4 separate regions of the Homo sapiens genome follow, and all the other regions are linked to region 2. Evidence: promoter capture Hi-C in human tissues and cell types (Jung and others, 2019). All regions are on one chromosome and are shown on one strand. Each heading gives the region's core, a stretch centred on a gene start or on the middle of the fragment in contact. The rest is flanking DNA. Distances are from core to core; before and after follow the strand shown.

Region 1 (2,700 bases), core at 33-2,532, 390 kb after region 2:
TTGACTGACCTGGTTAAAAAAAAAAAAAAGAGAGAGAGAGCCTAGAAAATTCAGAGCCTCGGCTGGGCACAGTGGCTCATGCCTTTAATCACAACACTTTAGGAGGCCAAGGCGGGCGGATCACCTGAGGTCGGGAGTTCGAGACTAGCCTGATCAACATGGAGAAACCCCGTCTCTACTAAAAATACAAAATTAGCTGGGCGTGGTGGCACATGCCTGTAATCACAGCTACTATGGAGGCAGAGGCAGGATAATTGCTTGAATCCAGGAGGTGGAGGTTGCAGTGAGCCGAGATCACGCCATTGCACTGCAGCCTGGGCAACAAGAGCGAAACTCCATCTCAAAAAAAAAAAGAAAATTCAGAGCCCCTATATTCACCTGATGGGCTGTACTTGAGGTCATTCAGCAGAGAGGTAGCTGGTGCTTCAGGGGCAGGAGAAGCAGGCTCACATACATTTAGGTCTTCAACTTTCATTTTCTCCATCCAGGTTCTTTCTGCATGTAGACTATCCTTACAAGAAACAATATTTGGGTGAACTTGTTCTTTGTTGTTGACACCAAAAACAGATTTTGCCACACATTAACGTTAAGGACAGTGGTCCTTCATTAACTAGAGGACCCATTCATCCACTGCTTACATTGACTTGAGGGCGCTATCTAACAATGGAAGAAAACACCTATATATTTCTTCTCATTTCTATTTCCTTATGCCAAGGAATTAAGCAGCTGGTGAATTAGAGTTAAGGCTTTCTACCCTAATGTGCACATTTGGAAAATATCATAATTAAGAAAATTATTCCTTCTTACCTAACAGAAGATGCTTTTGCTCTCACTGAGCCTTGTTCCACTTCATCTAGTAGTTCCACTGTAAAATAACCAAATGGCTTCCAACAGAGTTTCCAATCAGAAATCAATTAACTACTCCACTACCCACACACCCCTAGTTTAACCATGTACTGCAAACAATAATTGGAAATGACATGTTAGTCCACGGAGGCTTTTACTGGCCAGCAATAAATACAACAGAAGAGACCATCTAAAGTACCAAAGACTCTCAGTATTCTATCCCTACAAAGCTTCTTGGTTATTTAGAAGGATTAGGAACATTTCTATACATCCCCTTCACCCTTTTTGTTCTAGGGTACCTTTGTGGTCATTCAAGTTAGTTCTAGAGATTTCTTTCCCACCATCCCAATCCTAATGCACCTTCCTTCACATGGGTGCTGTTTGAGGGTTTTCCTTTTTTTTTTTTTTTTTTTGAGATGAAGTCTCGCACTGTTGCCTAGGCTGGAGTGCAGAGGTGCGACCTCAGCTCACTGTAACCTCCGCCTCCCAGGTTCAGGTGATACTCCTGCCTCAGCCTCCCAAGTCCCATGCCTGGGACTACAGGCATGCGCCACCACACACAGCTAACTTTTGTATTTTTAGTAGAGACGGGGTTTCACCATTGTGGCCAGGCTGGTCTCAATCTCTTGACCTCTTGATCCGCTCGCCTCAGCCTCCCTAAGTGCTGGGATTACAGGCGTGAGCCACCACATCTGGCCTCGTTTAGGTACTTTTCAAGCAAAAAGCCTCTATGTTTCAAAAGTCTCTTTTCTCTGTACTATCTAGAAGTATTGAATCTGGAGCAGAGAAAAGGTAAAATTGACTGAAAAATGCTGATTAGCCATTATTATCCTTCATCTTGACAATTCTTATCCAAGGTACTTTTGGGGACAACTCCTCCATGGTTGATTGGGCCACAGGACAAAGACAGAAATGACTATCCTTTGAGCTTAAAAATTATGAGCAAAGCCTATAATCCCAGCACTCTGGGAAGCTGAGGCAGGCAGATCACCTGAGGTCAGGAGTTCGAGACCAGCCTGGCCAACATGGCGAAACCCTGTGTCTCTACTAAAAAAATACAACAATTGGGCTGGGTGCAGTGGCTCACGCCTGTAATCCCAGCACTTTGGGAGGGTGAGGGGGGTGAATCATTTGAGGTCAGGAGTTTGAGACCAACCTAGACAACATGGTGAAACCCCGTTTCTACTAAAAATACAAAAAAATTAGCTGGGTGTGGTGGCACACACCTGTAATCCCAGCTCCTGGGGAGGATGATGCAGGAGAATTGCTTGAAACCCAGAGGCAAAGGTTGCAGTGAGACAAGATCATACCACTGCACTCCAGCCTTAGCGACAAAGTAAGAATCCGTCTCAAAAAAAAAAAAAAAAAAAGTATGAACGAAGGCCAAACCCTGGAGAAGAATTTAGGAGGCAATGAATTCCGTGCATACAGATCACAAAGCCGGTCAGCCATCAGCCTCCTGAGTTGGGGAGGTGATAGCAGTGATTCCTTCACTTCTCTCTACAAACCCATTCACAGCCTAGCTTTCTCCAATCCAGAGCTCTGTTTCACTTCAAAGGCTGATAGTGAAAACACAATTAAGAACTCCAACTACCACTACTATCCCTGCCATTATAAAAGAATATTCAAGGGACAGAGTGTTCATGACAGCATACTCAATGAGAAAGAAATATGTAGCTGTCCAGACTTGTATTCCCTGAAGTGGCTCTGGATTGGCAGTCATTAATTTGGTAAGATTTTCATTTCCTCCTAAACGCTTGTTTTCTCACAAACCAAAGCAATCTTTCAAGCAGTAGTAAACTCTCATTTACAGGAGTCCTTTCCTTTCTTCAGATCTGCCCCAGAGTGAGAGAT
Region 2 (2,700 bases), core at 143-2,642:
CTGACCAACATGGAGAAACCCCGTCTCTACTAAAAATACAAAATTAGTCGGGCACAGTGGCGCATGCCTGTAATCCCAGCTACTCGGGAGGCTGAGGCAGGAGAATCGCTTGAACTTGGGAGGCGGAGGTTGCAGTGAGCCAAAATCACGGCATTGCACTCCAGGCTGGTTTACAGAGTAAGACTGTCTCAAAAAAAGGCAAAAGAAAAAAGAAATGTGGCCCATGTGACTGGGGAACTGAATAATTTTATTTAATTATAACTCATTTAAAGTCAAACAGCTACACATGGCTGATGGCTACAGAATTGGAAAATGTAGCTCTAGGCTGGGCATGGTGGTGCACACCTGTAATCCCAGCACTTTGAGAGGCCGAGGCAGGCAGACTGTTTGAGCCAAGGAGTTCAAGACCAGCCTGGGCAACATGGTGAAAAGCCGTCTCTACAAAAAAAAATACAAAAAAATTTGCCAGGCGTGGTGGTGCGCACCTGTAGTCCCAGCTACTCAGGAGGCTGAAGTGGGAGGATGGCTTGAACCCAGCAGGCAGAGCAGTGAGCTGAGATTGCACTACTGCATTCCAGCCTGTGCAACAGGGCAAGACTTTGTCTCAAAAACAAACAAACAAACAAAAAACAAAAGAAAGAAAGAAAGAAAGAAACAAAGAAAAAGAAAAGAAACGAAAATGTAGCTCCGGACATGTATGTGCATTGAACATGGGAGTAAATAAAGATATAAAATTTTGAAACATAGTGTGACCAAGCATTTTCCCTTCTATTGTCTCATTTGAGCCTCAGAAAGTCCTATAAAGGAGATATGACAGGCACTAACAGCCCTATTATAGATTAGGGATGTTAAAAGACCTTCCCCAGATCACAAAGAGCATTAGAGGCACAGACAAGCCTAGAGGGAGGCAGACTTCTGGACTTCAAACCGATGCTTCTTTCTTTCATCAGTTACAAAAGCTTTCTCTTCACGGAAGCACCTCACATCAGCCCTCCAGCTCCTGTGAAGGTCTCAGTGCCCTGGGTGGACCCCAGGCCCCCATCTCCTCCCACTATCCGCTGTGCTACCTACCTGGAAGAGCTCCTGAACTTGAGCATCCACCCATTGCTCCATCTCCAGCCAGCGCTGGAGCTGGCCCCGGTCATACTTCACTGTCAGGCGGCTGGGTCTCCGGGACCTGGGTATCTTGGAGGAGTCCGGGTGGGACTTGGACTCTGAGTCTGTGGATGATGTCCTTCTCCTCCCAGAAGCCCAGTGGACCTTCTTACATGGGTTCTCCCCATCTGGGCTGGGAGATGTGCAGGAAGCAGGGCTTGAAGACAGCATGGAAGTATTGGTCTGGGCAAGGAGCTGGGAAAAACCGCCAGTTCTGAGCAGAGCCACAGAGGGAAGTGAGGAGACAGAGAACAGGAGAGGCCAGCAGAGAAGAAATGAAGGCAGGAGGAGGGCCAAGGCTCCCAGGGAGGGGCAAGGGCAAAGATCAATAGGACTTTGGTGCTGGGAATGCCAGTCTCCTGGCTCCTCACTGCCAGCCAGTGAGTGGCACTCCAGAGCCATGCCCCAGCCTCCCTTTCTGCAGCTTCTAGGGCCCAAAGTGGCATAAACTGCAGATGAGCAAAGGTCAAGAGGCTGCCATGCCCAGGGAGGAGGAAGGGGCCCTGGGGTCCTGAAGGGTACAGGGCTCCAATCGCTGCTCTATGGCCAGCTCTGGAATGGGACCTGAGTCGTTCTCACCTGAGATCCCTCTGTATCCCACCTTCCTGGGGCTGGATCCACTCTGGGCTCTGAGAAGCTGTGGTCAGATTCCGCAGAAGCAGGGTCCCTGGCTGGCAGGGATTCTTACTCAGAGCGTAGCACTACTGGGGGCAGAGCCCCAGCTGGTAGATAGAGTTGGAGGTCAGTTATTGATGGCTCCCGTAGGACCAGTGCCCCCAGTGTCTGGGTGTGTCCGAATGTAAACTGCTATCAGCCTGGCCTATAAAGGCAGTTTACCTGCTTGTAAAGGCAAATTTATCAAGACTTGTCTACTATGCCCGCTCCCCTGAGGCAACTGCTTAGGAAGCCATGTTTATTACCACGTGACCCTCCCCCGATTCATGTATTTGCTGACACAGAGGAAACCTGCAAACCTAACTTATACACAGGTGTCAGGGACTAATACTTCCAGGCATACATACTTGCATTCTAAGGCAGGGTATTTTTGTTTAGTCTTTTATAATGAAAATTTCTAAACTTTAAAAAAAAAAAGTGACAGAAGAACACTGTAATTTTTTTTTTTTTTTTTTTGAGATGGAGTCTCGCACTGTCACCCAGGCTGGGGGGCAATGCTGCGATCTTGGCTCACTGCAACATCCGCCTCCCAAGTTCAAGCAATTCTCCTGCCTCAGCCTCCCAAGAAGCTGGGATTACAGGCGCCCACCACCATGCCCGGATAATTTTTTGTATTTTTAGTAGAGACGAGGTTTCACTATGTTGCCCAGGCTGGTCTCAAATGCCTGACCTCATGATCCACCCGCCTCGGCCTCCCAAAGTGGTGGGATTACTGGAGTGAGCCACCGTGCCCAGCCTGTAATTTTTTTAAAATGGGGCCAGGCATGGTGGCTCACGCCTGTAATCCCAGCACTCTGGGAGGCCGAGGCGCGTGGATTGCTTGAGCTCAGGAGTTCAAGACCAGCCTGGGCAAAATGGTGAAATTCTCTC
Region 3 (2,700 bases), core at 138-2,637, 340 kb after region 2:
TCACCTGAAGGCTTGACTGGGGAGGATCTACTGGAGAGGAATGACCACTGTTTGGTTGTGGGAGATGAAGACATAGTCCCTCACAGACTGTCGGCTGGAGTCCTTGGTTCTCTGTCGGGCCGAATCCTCCCAAAAGTATTCTCCCAACATGGCAACCAGAACAAGTGATCTGACAGAAAGAGTGCACCCAAGATGGAAGCCATAGTATTAGGCCTTTTAGAAGCAAGGAAAGTATATACCAAGATTCTGGGAAGATGGCAGGGTGGTAACGGTGGCATACTTTCTAGATCTTCTCAAATCCCCATGTAAAAACAGAATAATTAGAGGACAAAACTCCAAACCCATGAACAATATTTACAACATACTGGGTGATGAAGTAACTCATAAACCTGAAATTGCAAAGAGGTGGGGACAACCCAAGAGATACTGACAACCATGTGGGAAAAACAGTAGAGGGAAGCAATGGGGTATCTGACAGACCTAAGAAGAAAATTGGTATTCACTAGAGAGTGTTAAGCGCCAATTTGAGAACAACAGCTGAAACCAAAAGGGGTTTTTTCACTCCAATAGCAATTGCATGAAAGGATCCCACAGTCTGAAGGTATACCCAGGCTTGAACAGTCTAGACCCTATAAGCTCTGTATAATAACCAACCATGGATCCCTTCCAGGACAAGTTCACACACTGGGGAGAAACTTCTAGAAATGGAACAAAAACTGAGCAGGGTAGGGAAAACAGAAAGGAAAGAGAGATAAAAGTACTAGGGAAGAAGACAAAGCCAAGAAATCTCAGAAAGCAAATAACTGTGATTTTAACACTACACAAAAACAACAAAATAGGAAGCTCTGTGAAGTTAAAAAATTAATTGAGCCTAGCCTGATGTGGTGGCTCACACCTGTAATGCCAGCACTTTGGGGAGCCAAGGCAGGAAAACTGATTGAAGCCAGGAGTTCTAGACCGCCTGGACAACATAGTGGGAACCTGTCTGCCCCCGCCAAAAAAATTTTTTTTTGAGACGAAGTCTAATTCTTTCACCCAGGCTGGAGTGCAGTGGCGTGATCTCAGCTCACTGCAACCTCCACCTCTGGGTTCAAGTGATTCTCCTGCCTCACCTCCCCAGTAGCTGGGATTACAGGCATGTGTCACCATGCCTGGCCCAAAGAAACCCCTTTTTTTTTTTTTTTTGAGATGGAGTCTTGCTCTATCACCCAGGCTGCAATGGAATGGCGTGATCTCGGCTCACTGCAACCTCCGCCTCCCGAGTTCAAGCGATTCTTCTGCCTCAGCCTCCTGAGTAGCTGGGACTACAGGCGCATGCTACAGTGCCTGGCTAATTTTTGTATTTTTAGTAGAGATGAAGTTTCACCATACTGGCCAGGCTGGTCTCGAACTCCTGACCTTGTGATCCGCCTGCCTCGGCCTCCCAAAGTGCTGGGATTACAGGTGTGAGACACTGCGCCCAGCCCCAAATTTTTTTTTGAAAACTAGCTGGGCATGGTGGCACATGCCTCTAGTCCTAGCTACTTGGGAGGCTCAGGTGGGAAGATTGCTTGAGCCCAGGAAGTCAAGACTGCAGTGAGCAGTGATTATGTCACTGCACTCCAGCCTGGGTGACAGAGTGAGAGTGTCTCAAAATAAAAAAAATAAAAAATAAATAGATGAACACTCTAATATATTGGTGCATAAAAAGCTAAAATGCATTAAGAATATTATGTAAGATGGCCGGGCAGGGCGTCTCATGCCTGTAATCCCAGCACTTTGGGAGGATCACTTGAGGCCAGGAGTTGGAGTCTAGCCTTGGCAGTATAATAAGAACCCCATCTCTAAAAAACAAACAAAAAACTATACAGCATATTTTAAAAATCACACTGTATCTGAAAATGGTGATCCAGAATGACCAACACCAAAACATAGTCTAACAAAATCATTTGACTTGAAAGAAAAAGAGGCCAAGGTGGGCAGTTCGCTTGGGTCCAAGAGTTCGAGACCAGCCTGGGCAACATGGCGAGACTCTGTCTCTACTAAAAATACAAAAAAATAGCTGGGTATGGTGGTGCACGCCTGTGGTCCCAGCTACTGAAGTGGGAGGATCACTTAACCCCAGAGGGTGGAGGTTGCAGTGAGCTAAGATTTCGCCACTGCACTCTATCCTGGGTGATAGAGTGAAACACTGTCTCAAAAAAAAAAAAATTATATCAGTCGGGCGCGGTGGCTCACGCCTGTAATCCCAGCACTTCGGGAGGCCAAGGCAGGTGGATCACCTGAGGTCGGGAGTTCAAGACCAACCTGACCAAGATGGTGAAACCCTGGCTCTACTAAAAATACAAAATTAGCCAGGCGGGGTGGTGCATGCCTGTAATCCCAGCTACTTGGGAGGAGGCAGGAGAATCGCTTGAACCCAGAAGGCGGAGGTTGTAGTGATCTGAGATCAAGCCATTGCACTCCAGGCTAGGCAACAAGAGTGAAACTCTGTCTCAAAAAAAAAAAAAATTATATCTTAGTAAAACCGTTAAAAATAATTTGTGGTTGATATAACTTACAATGAGAGTTCATCAAACTACAAATGAGGTTTCTGGTTTACATAATACTATTCTGATTTTCTTCCTATTTGTCTTCTCCTTCTTGGTCTCTGTGTGTATCTCTTCCTGTTTACTTTTTTTTTTTTTTGAGAGGGAGTCTCGCTCGTCGCCCAGGCTGGAG
Region 4 (2,700 bases), core at 1-2,500, 300 kb before region 2:
GCGGAGGTTGTGGTGAGCCAAAATCCCGCCATTGCACTCTAGCCTGGGCAACAAGAGCGAAACTCCATCTCAAAAAAAAAAAAAAAAAAGGAAAAGGTGGATAAGTCTCTCTGGATTTATTTTCCTTACCTGTAAAAAGGAAATAACCATAATTACCTCAACTACTTCAGTAAAATTGTGTTGAACAAATTTTTTGAATTATAAAAGTAAATAGGTAAAAGATAGTTTATTAAATAGGATATAAAAAGGGTCAATAAACAAATGAAAATATGCTCAATATCAATAGCCAACTGAGAAATGCAAATTAAAGCCACAGTGAAATACACACCCACCAGAATGGCTAAAATTAAAGACTGATACTACCAAGTCCTGATGAACACATGGAACAATTAGAACTCTCATTCATTGCTGGTGGGAGTGTTAAATGGGACAACCACTTTAGAAAACATATTGGCAGTTTTTAAAAATAAAACTAACAGACATAACAGTAGTTCCATTTTGTGGTATTTACCCAAGATAAAAGAAAATGTATATTCACAGAACAGCTGTACATGAATGTTCATAGCTGTTTTATTCACAGTAGCCAAAAACTGGACACAAATATCAGTTGACGGGAGAATGGATAAGTAAATTGTGGTATATCCAGAACAATTAAAGACAAGTCAGTAATTTAAAAGAAGAACAAATTATTGATACACACAACATGCATAATCTTTTTTTTTTTTTTTTTTTTTTTTTTTTGAGACGGGAGTCTGGCTCTGTCGCCCAGGCTGGAGTGCGATGGCGCGATCTCGGCTCTGCAAGCTCCAGCCTCCCAGGTTGACGCCATTCTCCTGCCTCAGCCTCCCGAGTAGCTGGGACTATAGGCACCCGCCACCACGCCCAGCTAATTTTTTGTATTTTTAGTAGAGACGGGGTTTCACCGTGTTAGCCAGGATGATCTCGATCTCCTGACCTCGTGATCCGCCCACCTCGGCCTCCCCAAAGTGCTGGGATTACAGGCCTGAGCCACCGCGCCCAGCCACAACATGCATAATCTTAAAAATATTATGTTGAGTGAAAGAAGCCAGACACAAAAGAGTATGTACTGTATAACTGGATTTATGTAAAATTCTAGAATGGACAAAACTAAGCTATAGGGACAGCAGATCAGTGGTTGCCTGGGGCTTATGGGGGTTGGGGCAATTGGCTGCAAAGAGGCATGAGAGAACTTTCTGGAATGATGGAAAGGCTCTGTCTTCATTGGGGTGGTGGTTACATGTGTGTATACCTTTGGAAAAATTCATCAAGCTGTTCTTTTTCTTTCTTTTTTTTTTTTTTTTTTTTTTTTTTTTTGGAGACTGGGTCTTGTTCTGTTGCTCAGGTTTTCTACAGCCTCGACCTCCTGGGGTCAAGCAATCCTCCTGCCTCAGCCTCCTGTGTAGCTATGATTACAGGCCTATGCCACTATGCCCAGCTAATTTTTTAATTTTTTGTAGAGGCAGAGTCTCGCTATGTTGCCCAGGCTGGTCTCCCAACTCCTGGGGCTCAAGCATTCCCCTCACTCAGCTTCCCAAAGTGCTGGGATTACAGGCATGAGTCACCATGCCCAGCCAAGCTGTTCTTTTTTTTTTTTGAGATGGAGTCTCACTCTGTCGCCCAGGCTGGAGTGCAGTGGCACAATCTCAACTCACCGCAACCTCTGCCACCCGGGTTCAAGCAATTCTGCCTCAGCCTCCAGAGTAGCTCGGATTACAGGCGCCTGCCACTGTGCTTGGCTAATTTTGTTGTATTTTTAGTTGAGATGGGGTTTTACCATCTTGGCCGGGCTGGTCTCGAACTCCTGACCTCGTGATCCACTTACCTTCGACTCCCAAATTGGTGGGATTACAGGCGTGAGCCACTGCGCCCGGCCAATTTTTGTATTTTTAGTAGAGACAGGGTTTCACTATGTTGGCCAGGCTAGTCTCAAACTCCTGACCTTAGGTAATCCGCCCGCCTCAGCCTCCCAAAGTGGTGGGATTACAGGCATGAGCCACCATGTATGGCTGAGCACTCTTCCTCTAAAGTCTCCCCAAACTATGTTATGTCTCCTAAATTCTGAAAAAGTCCTTCTAAATATTCTAAAGCCACACTCTTTTAGACTTATTTCCAAGACCTCAGGGAGGCCTACCAGTCCTTCTCAGGCCACTGTAACTGACCTGAAGTGTCCTCTTACCCAGACCTCAGCTCCTTTGACCTCACCCTGGCAGGCCACTGGGACCTCGCCTGCTCCTCAGAGCTGACCCTGCCTGACACCCCTTGTTTCTCCCTTAAGCTTTGAGTGCAGAGACCCAGGACATTCAGGATTCAGCCACAGGTGCTCAGGGAATACTGGGTGGCCTCTGGCCTGGGTTCTCCAAGCCTTAGAAGCCACCCACCCATAATGTCTGGTCCACCCAATGCCCTGGCCCTTGGATGCTCATACTTTGGTGTCTCTCCTTAGGTATAAATAAAATAGTGTCAATAATTACATATCTTTGTCCTTGGCCTTTTTTTTTTTTCTCTCCATGACCTGCAAGTCACCGTGGATGGTGGCTGGGGTGGTTGGGCTTTACTGTTCTTTCCCACTGAGAGTGCAGACGAAAGACCTCTGCAACAACACCTGTGAACTGCCTGGTGCCTGTGTGGGCCCACTGCGGCCTCACCTCACACAATGTGGGCTGTGTAGACCAGAGCCAG

The links. The method cuts DNA at HindIII sites, captures the fragments that hold promoters and counts their contacts. A contact is called where the count stands out against the background at its distance.
Region 1: a contact is called between a fragment that was not itself captured here and the fragment with the promoter of PPP1R14D in region 2, in 1 of the 25 tissues and cell types used here (IMR-90 fibroblasts).
Region 3: a contact is called between a fragment that was not itself captured here and the fragment with the promoter of PPP1R14D in region 2, in 2 of the 25 tissues and cell types used here (bladder and dorsolateral prefrontal cortex).
Region 4: a fragment that was not itself captured here is called in contact with the fragment with the promoter of PPP1R14D in region 2 in 1 of the 25 tissues and cell types used here (heart left ventricle).

Annotation. Positions count from the first base shown.
Region 1 is chr15:41,216,290-41,218,989 of GRCh38, forward strand. EXD1 (exonuclease 3'-5' domain containing 1) reads right to left here. Exons shown (of 12, transcript NM_001286441.2): 4 at 808-865; 5 at 379-506. Among named protein-coding and RNA genes, the nearest start is that of EXD1, 13 kb to the right of the region's middle. The HindIII fragment of the contact is 6,726 bases long and covers 1-2,700 here.
Region 2 is chr15:40,827,316-40,830,015 of GRCh38, forward strand. It overlaps PPP1R14D (protein phosphatase 1 regulatory inhibitor subunit 14D), which reads right to left and starts at 1,393. Exons shown (of 4, transcript NM_017726.8): 1 at 1,072-1,393. The coding sequence starts at 1,326. The HindIII fragment of the contact is 14,686 bases long and covers 1-2,700 here.
Region 3 is chr15:41,165,734-41,168,433 of GRCh38, forward strand. No RefSeq gene overlaps it. Among named protein-coding and RNA genes, the nearest start is that of INO80, 51 kb to the left of the region's middle. The HindIII fragment of the contact is 6,382 bases long and covers 1-2,700 here.
Region 4 is chr15:40,523,434-40,526,133 of GRCh38, forward strand. It overlaps a transcript of CCDC32 not described here. Among named protein-coding and RNA genes, the nearest start is that of CCDC32, 40 kb to the right of the region's middle. The HindIII fragment of the contact is 5,556 bases long and covers 1-2,700 here.